Linked DNA regions of Homo sapiens: region 2 is linked to region 1. Evidence: promoter capture Hi-C in human tissues and cell types (Jung and others, 2019). All regions are on one chromosome and are shown on one strand. Each heading gives the region's core, a stretch centred on a gene start or on the middle of the fragment in contact. The rest is flanking DNA. Distances are from core to core; before and after follow the strand shown. Region 1 holds the start of CRY2 (cryptochrome circadian regulator 2). Region 2 overlaps PRDM11 (PR/SET domain 11).

Evidence for each region. Contacts are between HindIII fragments. The study calls those that stand out against the background at their distance.
Region 2: a fragment that was not itself captured here is called in contact with the fragment with the promoter of CRY2 in region 1 in 1 of the 25 tissues and cell types used here (dorsolateral prefrontal cortex).

The regions. Positions count from the first base shown.
Region 1 is chr11:45,842,629-45,848,863 of GRCh38, reverse strand. CRY2 (cryptochrome circadian regulator 2) reads right to left here and starts at 1,389. Exons shown (of 12, transcript NM_021117.5): 1 at 1,159-1,389. The coding sequence starts at 1,373. RefSeq lists a silencer at 619-728 and enhancers at 677-1,198, 1,129-1,368, 1,729-1,778, 1,829-1,938. The HindIII fragment of the contact is 4,522 bases long and covers 1-2,118 here.
Region 2 is chr11:45,153,146-45,159,605 of GRCh38, reverse strand. The region is part of intron 1 of PRDM11 (PR/SET domain 11); the gene reads right to left. Among named protein-coding and RNA genes, the nearest start is that of PRDM11, 9.7 kb to the right of the region's middle. The HindIII fragment of the contact is 3,876 bases long and covers 2,010-5,885 here.

The DNA.
Region 1 (6,235 bases), core at 140-2,639:
CACTGAACAGGCCCACTGCTAGCAGCACTCACTCTCTTAGCAGGGCACACACCTTGGAGAGAAAAGAATGGTGTGCCGAGAGCCACGGTATCCTGGAAATAACCCTGTCCATCGATGCAACAAGGCCACAAGCAAACATTCCCCAGAACAATGCAAACAAACCGAGCGACTGCCACTAGGTGTTCTGAAGAGCGATGGGTACATTATGTCTCAAAACTCTTTAGTTTGAATACTGTTTACAGTGAAAATACACTAACGACCTGTTCATCTTTTTCCATGATCATGTCGACTCCATCTCCTGGGGGGTCATCAGAGGGGCCCTTGATATCATGGCTTTCCTGCTCCCTAACCTTACCACAACAGTTCATAAAAGTCTCATCTCTAATGGCTCTACTGTCCTCTAAAATCATGACAAGAGGATGACGGGGTGACACTTTGGATTCTTTTAAATTTTTCTATCGAGGTCAAAGCTCCAGAGCAGGGCTTAAAACATTTTGGAGAATCCCCTGGATTCTCTGGAGCTTTGAACATAAAGCGACTCCACCTGAAGACGCCTTTGGCTTCTTTATTTATAATATAGGGGAGAAGACCTTATTTAATGCTAAGCCAGGGTCACTTGACACCCCTAGAGGCAGGACGGTCTGGGTGCAGGGTAGCCAGGATGGGTGGTAGGGCGGATTCAAACGAGCCAGAGGCTTCGGAGTGATCTCCCCGAGCCCAGCAACGGGCTCTTGAAGAATGCGAGCAAAAACCCGTCCCGCCCTCACACTACGTTATCTCCCTTCCGCCCCTCCCTGAGTAGACCGTAAGAGCCCTAGACCAGGAGCCCCTGTTCTGCCACTCACTGGCTACAAGTCCTTGGGCAGGTCGACTTTGGGTCTCCAGGGCTCAAGGGTCTCATCTGTACAACGGGGATCATGATCTCCGTTCCACAGGCAGTTGTGAGGCTCAAAGGGGTAACAGTGCGAACGCGCTTTGTCAGAGGCTGAACCCTGGCCCACCGGCGCGTTAGGACCATGACGAATTACTTCCCCGGTCTCGGCTTCTCCCCTCTGGCCTTCCAGCCGTGGCGGGGTTGGGGGGATCGTGCTGTTCGCCGGTCACCCCAGGGTCAGGGTCCTGGCTGCGTCCCCGCCACCCAGCCCCGGGTCCCCTCACCTCCATCGGTTGATCCCGACTGAGGAGGAGGCCGCGAACCACGGGTCGAGAATGTAAACGCAGCGCACGCAGCGCGCCCCGCGCACGGCCGCCAGCAACGCCGGGTTGTCGTGGAGTCGCAGCCCTTTGCGGAACCAGTGCACCGAAGAGGCGCTGTCCGTGCCGGGCGCTGGCGCCGGGGCCACAGCTGCCGCCGTCGCCACAGTCGCCGCCATGACTGTCCAGACTGCTCCAGCCACCCCCGCTCCGCCCCGGTAGGCGACGTGGACCCCGCCCATAGCCCGCCCAGTGACCTATGACGCCGCAACTCCACCCTTAGTCCCCGCCCACAGGGCCCCAGAGCCCCTCTGCCATTGGCTGAGTGCCTTCCACCTGGCGATTGGCCCAGAGGCGCCGGAACAGGCCCGCCCCCTCACGTTCCTACCATGTGTGGGTCCGCCCGGGTGGAGCTGGCATGCGGACAAGTGACGCAGGCTGGGGCTGTCCGCAGGCTGGGGCTGTCCGCGGAGTGCCGGGAGTAGGCCAAGTCTCAAGGGACAGCGGATCTCTTACCCACGTCCTGTTCAGGGCCTGCTTCTAGAAGAAGCTGCCTGGGCTGGTAGGGGTTGCTGTGACTACAGCCAGTGACTTGCAAGACTGACAGCTGACCTTCCTATTATCACCAACATCGTCACCATCACCATCTACATCATTCTACTACAGCTGCCATTTATTAAGTGCACTTTATATGGCAAGAGACATGATCATCTCCTTACGTAGACGGTCTCATTTACTATTCTCAACTCAGCCCAGTTACATTCATTTAGCGAACCCCAGTGAAAAAGCTGCTGTTGTTTTCGTTTCACAGATGAAGAAAACGGAGGGTGCCGCAGGTTGAGTGACTTATTCAATATCATAAAGCTGCTAAGAGGATTTCACCCAGATTATTCTGATTTCGAAATTTCTGCTTTTATCCACGAAGCTATACTTCTCTTTGTGCGAAGATCCTTGGTAATTCCAAGTGGCAGAGTCTAAGGACGGGGAAGGAGTGCCCTAATATGCAGCAGTAGAGGATTTGGGAGTAAGGACTGGGAATGTGGGGGACTTGAATTGAGATAGTAATTATGCCATCAGATGAATTTATTTTCTTTTAGTCTGTTTAGTAGATCCAGTGTGTGCAAAGCACTGTACTGGATTCCGGGTAGGGTTCAGAGATGTGGAGGACACTGTCCCCATTCTTCTGGGACGCCAGGTGGAACCCTCTTGGGCTAAGACGGCTTAGTCAAGCTGCAGCTTTGGGGTTATCAGGTGGAAAACAGTCTGTTTCAACTTGACCCTAGGTTGAGCCCATGCTTGGAACCCTTCCTGGACCTGGGACAGAGTGATGAAAGCATTTAGTAATTTAGTCTGCAATTTAGTGGCATTAATTGGCACCACTCTCTAAACCAGTGTCACTGCAATCCTAGGCATTCTCTGTCATTTCCAGGGCTTTTCACGAGCTGTTCCAGCAGTCTAGATCACACTCCCTCTTCCATCTTTGTTTCTAACTCCAGTTTGCTCTGTATCATTGTTCAGTATAGATGTCACCTTCTTGCTGTCTGATCCCAACCTGAATAGTGCCCCATCTTATTCTGTGCTTCTTTTTGGTCACTTGTCTTGGCACACAATACTGAAATTTCTTGCTTAAAAGTCTTTCTGCCCCATTAGAGTATAAACTCCTGGAGAGCAGGGGCTGTGGCTTATTTACATACAGTTGTATGTCTGAAGTCTAGCTCAGGGCTTGGCACCTAACGCTCAAGGATTATTTGAGTAAAAATTGAACTAGAGTCTCATATTGGCAGGCTCTTAAAGGTTTATCCTAGTCCGCTTACCTGACCCTTTCCTTATTTTTGAATTTCCTTTCCAAATTCTTGCTGAATAAATCGATGCAATCTTTCATTACTTTTATTTTAAGGTTTTGTGTTCCCCCTCTCCTATGCCCTCTTCTCTCCACAAGGTTGGTGCTTTGCTAGGAATGAAACAGAGTGTAAGGAGGTGGTTCTCCCTTAACCTCAGAGATGGGTCCTCTTCCCTTTTTCTCCTCTAAATTCCCATAATGCTATATCTGTATTCCGTGAACCCTGTGAGGCAGGGACTGTGCTTGTCTTACTTTTCAGTGTCTTCTCAGCTGGTACTCTGGTACCTAACATATAGTAGGTGCTCAAAAAACATTTGTTGAATGATCAAAAGTCACTTCCCTCCCCTCCCCTCGCTCTCTTATTAAGCTATCATGAGAGGCAGTGTGATGTAATGGTTAAACCTGAGGCTTTGCACATTGGAGTTGCTGAGTTCAAATTCTAGTTCTGCTTTTATTCTCTGTGACCTTGGATAAGCTAGTTAACCTCTCTGTTCCTCACTTTCTTAATCTTTGCAATAGGGTGATAATAGCACTTAGGATATAGTAAGCATTTGTACTGTGTCAGCTACTGTTATTCTGAACAGCAGGACCTGTGTCTGGTTTTGTCTTCCTTGTAATGCTCAGCCCTGGGTCTTACATGTAATGTGGGCTCCATAAGTTGCTGACTACATAAAATATTTTACTTATTTTTTTAAAGTCCTTGAAATTTTGCCAATAATGAAAAAACAAGTAATCAACCTCAGTTCCCAAAACCTAACAAATCAATTATTTCTTATCTTCATGTTGCCTTCTAGACTTTGTCCACAAACATTTAAGTTTTAAAACTTTAATCAAAGCAGAGGTTCAGTGCTCCCTGGGTTGTGTTTTTTTTTTTTTTTTTGTTTGTTTTTTTTTTTTTAATTTGAGATGGAGTCTTGCTCTGTCACCCAGGCTGGAGTGCAGTGGCGTGATCTCAGCTCACTGCAACCTCTGCCTCCTGGGCTCAAGCAATTCTCGTGCATCAGCCTCCCAAGTAGCTGGGAGTATAGGTGGCAGCCACCACGCTGGGCTAATTTTTGTATTTTTAGTAGAGTCAGGGTTTCACCATATTGATCAGGCTGGTCTTGAACTCCTGACCTCAGGCAATCCACCTGCCTTGGCCTCTCAAAGTGCTGGGATTACAGGTGTGAGCCACCGACCGTGTCCAGCCTGTTCTTTTTTTTTTTTTTTTTTTTTTTGAGACAGGGTCTTGTTCTGTCACCCAAGCTGGAGTGCAGTGCTGTGACCCTAGTTCAATACATTTTCAAACTCCTGGGCTCAAGGGATCCTCCTGCCTCAGCCTCCTGAGTAGCTAGGACTACAGGCACACACTACCATGCCCAGCTAATTTAAAAAACATTTTTTTCTTGGTAAAAACAGGGGTCTTGCTATGTTGCCCAGGCTGGTCTTGAAGCAATCAACTCCTAGCCTCAATCGATCCTCCCTCTTTGGGCTCCCAAAGTGCTGGGATTATAGGCATGAGCCATTGCACCCGGCCCAGCTTTTTTAAAACTTAAAATATTAAGCATGTTGTATATTGCTGCATCATTACTTTTGTGTTTTTTTGTGGTTTGTGTTGTCAAGTTGATAAAGATGAACTATTAATACTTCATTGAATAATTGCATATTGCTTCAGTATATTAACAGTGTAACATTCAAGAATCGGGAAGTAGGGTGGGTGCGGTGGCTCACGCCTGTAATCCCAGCACTTTGGGAGGCCGAGGCAGGAGGATCATTTGAGGTCAGGAATTGATTGGCCAACATGGTGAAGCCCCGTCTCTACTAAAAATACAAAAAGTAGCCAGGTGTGGTGGCGCGTGCCTGTAATCCCAGCTACTCAGGAGGCTGAGGCAGCAGAATTACTTGAACCCGGGAGGTGGAGATTACAGTGAACCAAGATCACGCCACCAGACTTCAGTCTGAGTGACGAAGTGAGACTTCGGAAAAAAAAAAAAAAGAATCGGGAAGTAAATCTGACACTAGATAGAATACTAGAGTGCAAAGTCCACTTTGGGTTTTTACACTTTAAAAGGGACACAGAGAAATTGGACAGAGACCAAAGAAACCTGTACATTGCTAAGGAAGTGAAATGTAATGGGGTACTATTGTCTCTTCGAGAGAAATAAAAGCTAATTTTTGATCTCATAATAATGCACTCTAGTGTACACCTTGTAAAAAGTACCTCCAAAGAGTGGTTGTCATGAGGATGCCAAACAACCTAGTTTACACTAGGAAGAGTGAAAGATTGGAGAGACTTAGGATAAGGTGCTTTAAGGATGAGATGAATTAGCCAGGAACTGAGTGGCGTCTTTCTCCCCCGAAGATACTTACGCAGATAGATCAGTCCTGTTTTGTCTCTTTTTGTTAATGTCCTGCATGGAGACTGGATTAGACAACTTTCTACTTTGGCTTTGAACTGCGCTTTGGGTAAATATTTGATGATTGGCTGAAGGTAACCAGGCGCGGCGGGAGGGAAGTCCCCGGCCAGTTTAAGTTATCCGCGCCCTCTAGTGGTAGGACTGGGACAGCGGCGGTTCGGTTTGCGGCTGGGCGGGGAACACCAGGACCAATCCAGGGTGCAGAGGTGGCATGCCTGTTCCCAAGGCTTCACGCAAAAGCCTATTTTGATGTAGTGACGTAAAATGTTTGTTCTTGGAACTGTTAAGCTTGAGAAGCAGTAAAGCTTATTGAGAGCACAGACCGTAAAACTAAACTCCCTGGGTTCCATTTCCAGATCTGACATTAACTAGCAAATTACTTAATTGGGCGAGCTAATTAACCTCTCTGTGCCTTAGTTTCCTCATTTGTAAAATGGGGATGATGATACTTATAATAAAAGTACAATATGAAATTAGGGAAAGGTCAATAGACTAATAAGTCAGAATTGAGAATCCAGAAACAGGTCCACATGAATCTGGACATTTTATTCACGACAAAGATGTCTCCGTAAAGAAGTGGGGAAAGTAATGGGTCAATCAGGTATTCCATTGTAAAAAAGTGAAACTTGACTCCATCTCACAACATACAAATCAATTCCAGATAGATTATATGCTTAATGTGAGGGGTAAAACGATAAAGCTTTAAGAAGATTGTATTGGAGAATATCTTCGCAACCTTGGGGGAAGACAAACATTTCTTGAAAAAGACATGAAAAGCACTAACCATTAAAGAAAATGTTGATGA
Region 2 (6,460 bases), core at 2,698-5,197, 690 kb after region 1:
ACAGCTATGTGGTCACGAGGAGAGTCAGGACATGTGGGTCTAAGTCCCTGATGTCCCACAAGACCTTGACAAAGTTGCTGAACCCTCTGGGGCCTCAACTCCTTCATCCGCAAACTGGGCGAACAGTAGCTACTCCCAAGCTTGCTGCACAGATGAAATGAGACCAGGCCCACTTAGCCTCTTTGTGAACCACAGGGACTCCCACAACATGTGAGGCCCACCCACGCCTCAGACACTGGGCTCTGAGAAAAGGGGGTGGCAACAATTGAGCTCCAGAAGCAGCCAGACTGCTGCCAGGCCAGGAGCCCAGGGCAGCCAGGAAGGAGGCCACTGCTGGGCCCAGGAGGCAGCAGGCGGAGGGTTCTCCAGGATGGAAGGGTCCAGGAAGAAATGAGAGTGAGTCTAAAAGGGCAGAGGAGACTTTCTTGGCCACTGTCCTGGGCCTGGGGCCAGGGTGCTCAGGGAGGGCAGGGGAGCCACTGGCAGGTGCCAGGGAGGAGTCTGGTTTCTAACCGAAGCCCGGGGAGCAGACCCCTGGGAGCTGGGCCAGTGGGTCCTTTCCTCACCGGTAGCTGAGGGAACTGGGACAGGGCAGGCCACAGAACTAGGAAGGGGGGGCTCAAGGAGAGGGAGGGCGGAGCACAGTCCCCGGGAGAAGCCAAGACAGGCTGCGATGAGCAAAGGGGCCAGACTGTGCCCCTGGACCCGGACACGGACAACCTTGGAGGATTTGATTAGGAGGTCTTGCTGAGAAGTGGCAGAAGCCATGCACAACAGGCTCAGGGTGTCTGTCCTTAGAGAAGGGGGGGCACCGAGAAGCAAGGAGGTCTCAGCAGGCCTGCACAGTGAAAGGATCAGCTTTGGGGAAGGGTGGAGCAGAAAGACGAAGCCTGAGTTAGGCTCAGCTGTCCCAGGGCCTGCTCCCCAGCTCCCGTCAGGGAGGCCCTCGCTCTATGGCAAGTCATGAGTTCAGTGTGGGACCAACCAAGTCGGGTACAGCAGACAGGGTGAGGACTCTAATCCTGAGCCTCCACACATGACCAAGACCACTGTTAAAACTAAGGCACCTCAACAACTCCTGCCTTCCTGGCCCTGAAGCCAGAGCCTGGACAGAGAAGAATGCCTGCCCAGCCCCGTTCTGTAGGACCCCAGGCAGCTGGACTCCCTGTTGAACAGCAGCCAGACAGCCCGGCCTGCTGCTGGGGCCCAGCCTGTCTGGGAGCTGCAGGGAGGGAGGCAGGGGCTGGGCCACCCTGAACTGGGGCCCCAGAGGAGGGTGGAGGTGGGGCAGGCAGGAGAGGCGCTTCCAACAGTTCCTTCCCAGGCAGGGCCTCCGTGGGCTTGTGGCCACATGCAGGCCCAGGCACACCTTGGTCTGTTCCCAGCAGCCCTGGGACAGGGCAGGTCAGTTACTCTAGGGACAGGAGGCTGTGACAGAGTTGAAGACCAGCGACTCCCTGACACTGCACTGTCTGCTTTGAACTGGGCTGGGTTGGGAATGACTTTAACTTTTCCCTCGCTACCTCAACCAGATGTTTGCTCCTCAGGCCACAGAGGCAGGTCTCAGCCCTGGCCCATCAGAGGATCCATGCAGGAAGCCACTTCAGCCTGCTGCCCACTGCTCACCTCCTGCACAGACCCCATGCCATCAGAGACCAGGTACCCAGGGCCTGGGCAATGGCCCAACCTCAGCTCAAACTTCAGCCCTCCCTTCTGACAGCTTTCCCTGAACACGGCTCTGGACTGTACCCCAAACTGTACCCAGCACCCATTTGACAGCCCACCAGTCCACGTTCCTGCAGCTCTAGTAGGGCAGGCAGTGTGGACAAGAGAGTTCTGCCATGGCCAGCCCATGACCCCAGGTGTGACCCCACCAACCAGGCCAGCCTGGAAAGGCCATGCTGCTCACACCCGAGGGCTGCCTGCCCATCAGCCAGGACCGACTCAGGGGACAAAGAGAGGCCTGTGCATCAGCAACCTACTCCACAAGACACAATCGAGGAACAGCCTTCTGGGAGGTTGGCGGTGGAAAGGAAGCATACACCTGGATGGCCTCTTTGGTCCTCTAAGGCGTAGGTCCCCAACCCCTGGACCACGGATGGGTACTGATCCATAACCTGTTAGGAACCAGGTTGCAGAGCAGGAGACGAGTGGCAGGCGAGCTAGCAAGCATTAACGCCTGAGCTCTGCCTCCTGTCAGATCACAGGCAGCACTAGATTATCATAGGACGCGAACCCTACCGTGAACTGCGCATGCGAGGGCTCTAGGAGTGTGCTCCTTTGAGAATTGAACGAATGCCTGATGATCCGAGGTGGAACAGTTGATGATCTGAAGTGGAATAGTTTCATCCCCAAACCATCCTCCCCGACCCCGTCCATGGAAAAATTGTCCTTCATGAAATGGTCCCTTGTGCCCCAAAGGTTGGAGACCACTGCTCTAAGCCACCTACTCAGCCATGGCCACCTCAAGTCCACTGCCACCTGGACAGAGTTTCTGTGGCGCAAAGCTAACTACTTCTCTCCCCTGCTTACAAACCACCGACAGCTCCCCCGTGCCTCCAGGGCAAAGTCTCAATTCCTTCACACAGCATTCAAGGCCCTCCCGGCCTGGCCCTCACCTGCCTCTCCCCAGCCAACTCCACTGCTTCTCTAAACACCCATGACCGCTTGCCATTCCTGAACCATGGGGTCCTCCTGTTCCTGCCTTTGCACATACTGTTCCCAGTGCCTAAAATGCCCTTCCCTCTCCCTCCGCCTGGCAAACCCCCGCTCCTCCCTCAAGGTCCAGCTCATCGTCACCTCCTCTGGGAGGCCTAACCAGATCCTCCCTCTCCACCTCCAGGGCGAAATGACTTGCTCTCCTCTGCCCCATATCCATGAGCAAGCCAGGCGCATCCTACCTTCAATCCCAAGACCCAGGCAAGAGCTGCTCAAGAAATTTGAGGTGAAGTGACTTCTTTACTTTTTAAGTTTTCCAATCTGATGCCAACAGATATTTTTGTGAAATAAAATTAAAAATGATGTGGCAATGTCAAGTTGCCAAACAAGTTTCTCAAGGCTTTCTCTCAAAGTCTGCATGTCTCTCACCATACACCCATCCAGCACAGCTCAGGATGGGCAGAGGTCTGCGGACCACGGTCTCCATTGCCTGGCAGAGCCACTGTGCTCCCAGTGTTCCAAGAGGAACCTGGTGCAGGGCCCATCAAGAGTCAGGTGTGTACGTCTGGACCCCAGAGCACAAGGGGCCGCTCCATGAACATCTGCTGACCCAGACAATGGATGGGAAGGTTTGAAAATGCTGTAACATGGCCGGTCCTTATGCTAGGCATCCCCATTCTTCAAGTGGCCGCATAAAGGCACAGAGAGGGTGACCTGCCTGAGCCACAGTGGCTCATATGCTGTACTTTCTTTACACTGCCCATCATCTCAGGGGAAGGAACTTGGAATCTGTAAGTTAGCCATCCAAACTCCTGCCCAGCATGGATGGCTGACCTTATCTCCCACTGCAGTCCCAGCAAGCCAGTCCCATGCTGTGATAAAGAGCTCAGACTCTGGAATCAGACAGACCTAGGTTCATATCCTGGCTCAGCCTTTCATAGCTGTGTGACCTTAGGTGAGTCACCTCACTTCTCTGGGCCTCAATGTTACCTCTGTAAACTGCACCTAATAACACTAGCATCATGGGACAGCTATGAGGGTTGAATGGAACATGCCCGTCCACACTCATTTGGGCTCGGCTGTCGCTGATGTTTATAAAAGGCCCAGGGTCTGGCAGCCAGACACTCTGCCCTGGATCCTCCTTTTCTGCTTGCTCTTCTGGAGACCCAATATCTCCTCTCTGGGGTCAAGAGAGACTGCCGGTTTCCCTGGCTGCTAAGCTTGCTGATTTCCCTTGAGGACTTCACCTCCCTGCCCTCTGCCTCCCTCAGGCTAAGGGGCTTTTCCTTCCTCCCTCTCCACCCCTCCTTGAGGCACCCCTGCACCCCCTCTCCAAATGCAAACCCCCTCTGGCTGGTCTTTCTTTCTCTTGGAACACAGCCGGCCTAAAGAGGGGCACCCCTGGCCCCTGGGAAAATGACACTCTGTTTGGGTTGGAACAGTAAAGGGCTGTGAGGTCAGGGACAAGCCCCAGCCAACCACCTCCCGGCAACCCCCAGAGCCCGCCCTCTCTGTACCTTGGGCCATGACGGTGCTGAGTCCGCCCTGGCTGGGTCCCAGTTGGCTGCTCCCAAGAGAAGCTCACTTCCTTCTGGGGCTGAGGGTCTGGTGGGCTCCTCCCCATGCCCCTTGGCCATCGTGGAGCCTCCCAAGCCGGCCATCTCCATCCCCTGGCATCGGGCAGCCAGATCCTTTCCTGGCCCTCACCCCTTTCCCTTGGGGAAAGTGAGAGATAGTGGGAGAAGCCACTCCGGGAAAGCTGACATTGTGGGGGCGGTTCCATATTTACTTGCTCAGTGACGTCCATACCAGCCCAGCTCAGTGCCCTAGTCAAAGTGATCCTCCTGCCTGCTGGGCCCACTCTCGCCCTCAACTCTGACACAAGCCTGGGGGAAGGCGCCCACCGGCCACTACCCCCCTTTCTACCCCAAGCTCCTTCCAGCCACACTCCCTGCAGTAGCTGGACAATCTCTCTGTTTGGGAAGCAGGGTACAGAGGCTACAACAACACTCTCTGGGGTCCCCATTCTGCTCTGATTCCAGAAGGACTGGGGTGCAGAGGAAGGGGTGCTAGATTTGGGGTTAGAATGTTAGCTTGGTTACTTCCTAAACTGTATGAGCTCTAAGTCACTTCCCCTCTCTGAGCCTCAGTTTTCTGAGCTATAAAATGGGGGTTTTAAGAGCCAACCTGCCTGGGCTAGTGATCAGGGATCGGGAGAAGGTGCAGTTGGGAGGAGGAGAGTTCTGGTTGCTCTTATGGATCGGATGAGGTAGGGGAGACAGGACTGGAAGGGAAAGCTCTAGAAGGCACTGAAGGCTCCAGAGGCCTGGGGTGCCTCACTTTGCAAGCAGGGACCCCCCTACCACTAGCACCAACCCCTGATCTAAGGCTGCTGCTTGGGAGCAGGATGGGCAGCAGCTATCTGCCCCCACCCCTACTCCACTTCCCGTACCCAGTATCATTTCAGCGGAGGCTCCGGGTCTGTTTGAATGTGTCCGCAACTTCTGACCTGTGAGGTTCCTGGGATGGGGAGAAGGTCTGAAACCAACACTCTATAAATCAAATCCTACTTTTATTGATTTATTATTTTTTGAGACAGGGTCTCACTCTGTCTCCCAGGCAGGAGTACAGTGGTGCGATCTCAGCTCATCACAGCCTCGATCTCCCAGGGTCCAGTGATCTTCCCGCCTCAGCCTCCCAAGTTGCTGGGACTACAGGCACACATCACCAAGCCCAGGTAATTTTGTTCATTTTTTGTAAATACAGGGTCTCACTATGTTGCCCAGGCTGGTCTCAAACTCCTGGACTCAAGCGATCCTCCCACCTCAGCCTCCCAAAGTGCTGGGATTATAGGCATGAGCCACTGTGCCCAGCCCAAATCCTATTTTTAAATCACCCAAGAAACCTTCTGGGAATTATTATGTAATACAAATAGGCAACCTCAAAGACTTCCTTTATCAATGTGGTTTTCTTAAGAAGATTGGAAAAATGAGATGATAGCTGTGTGATCTTCAGTTGGTCATGTAACCTCTCTGAGCCCCAAGGTTCCTCATCCATATGTGGATGCGGGAGTAACCTCACGGGGCTGTTGTCAGTGTCCTGGTGCTCCATACATGTTCCTTCTAGGTGTTTACTGCCCCAGAGATAACAGCACCTTAAACTCAGTCCTGCAAACACAGAGGAAAAAATCTTCCACAGAATGTAGGGCAGGACTGATATTACTGAGTCCATTTACAGAAAGGAAACTGAGGCGCAGTTAAATATTTGGCCTTGAACACAAGACAGTGGGGCACCATGAGTGTCTGAGGCTGTGGCCAGATCACCTTTAAGTGCAGATATGCTCATTGTCTTGTATTCAGGCACTGCTGTCCCATCGCCAGCAAGAGGCATGAGAGGACCCCCATGCCTCCCCCATGTCCACTGGCCTCACACCCAGGAGATGGCCCAAGACTGGCCCTAAGCCATTCACTGGTGCTCCGTCTTTCTCCGGAGCTGTCCATGCAGCCCTTGGAGGCCAGTAGTGGCATTGCCCCCGTTCTGCAGATGAGAAAATGGGTAACTCCAAGAGGGACAGCCTCCTGCTCAGATCTCACCGCTATCTGGTGCCAGAAGCAGGACTGAACCTGGGGCCCACGCCCTCTCCAGGGAACAGTGTGGACCCCACCAGCTGGCTCCCTGGCTCCTTCTCAGTTCCCTTTCCCTGCCAAGGGACCAGCCTAAGGCACTTTGCTGGATTTTATCTGCGGGTCCCCTCGCTACTCAGAAGCAGAAGTCAGGCACACTCGGGGAAACAACTGGCCTC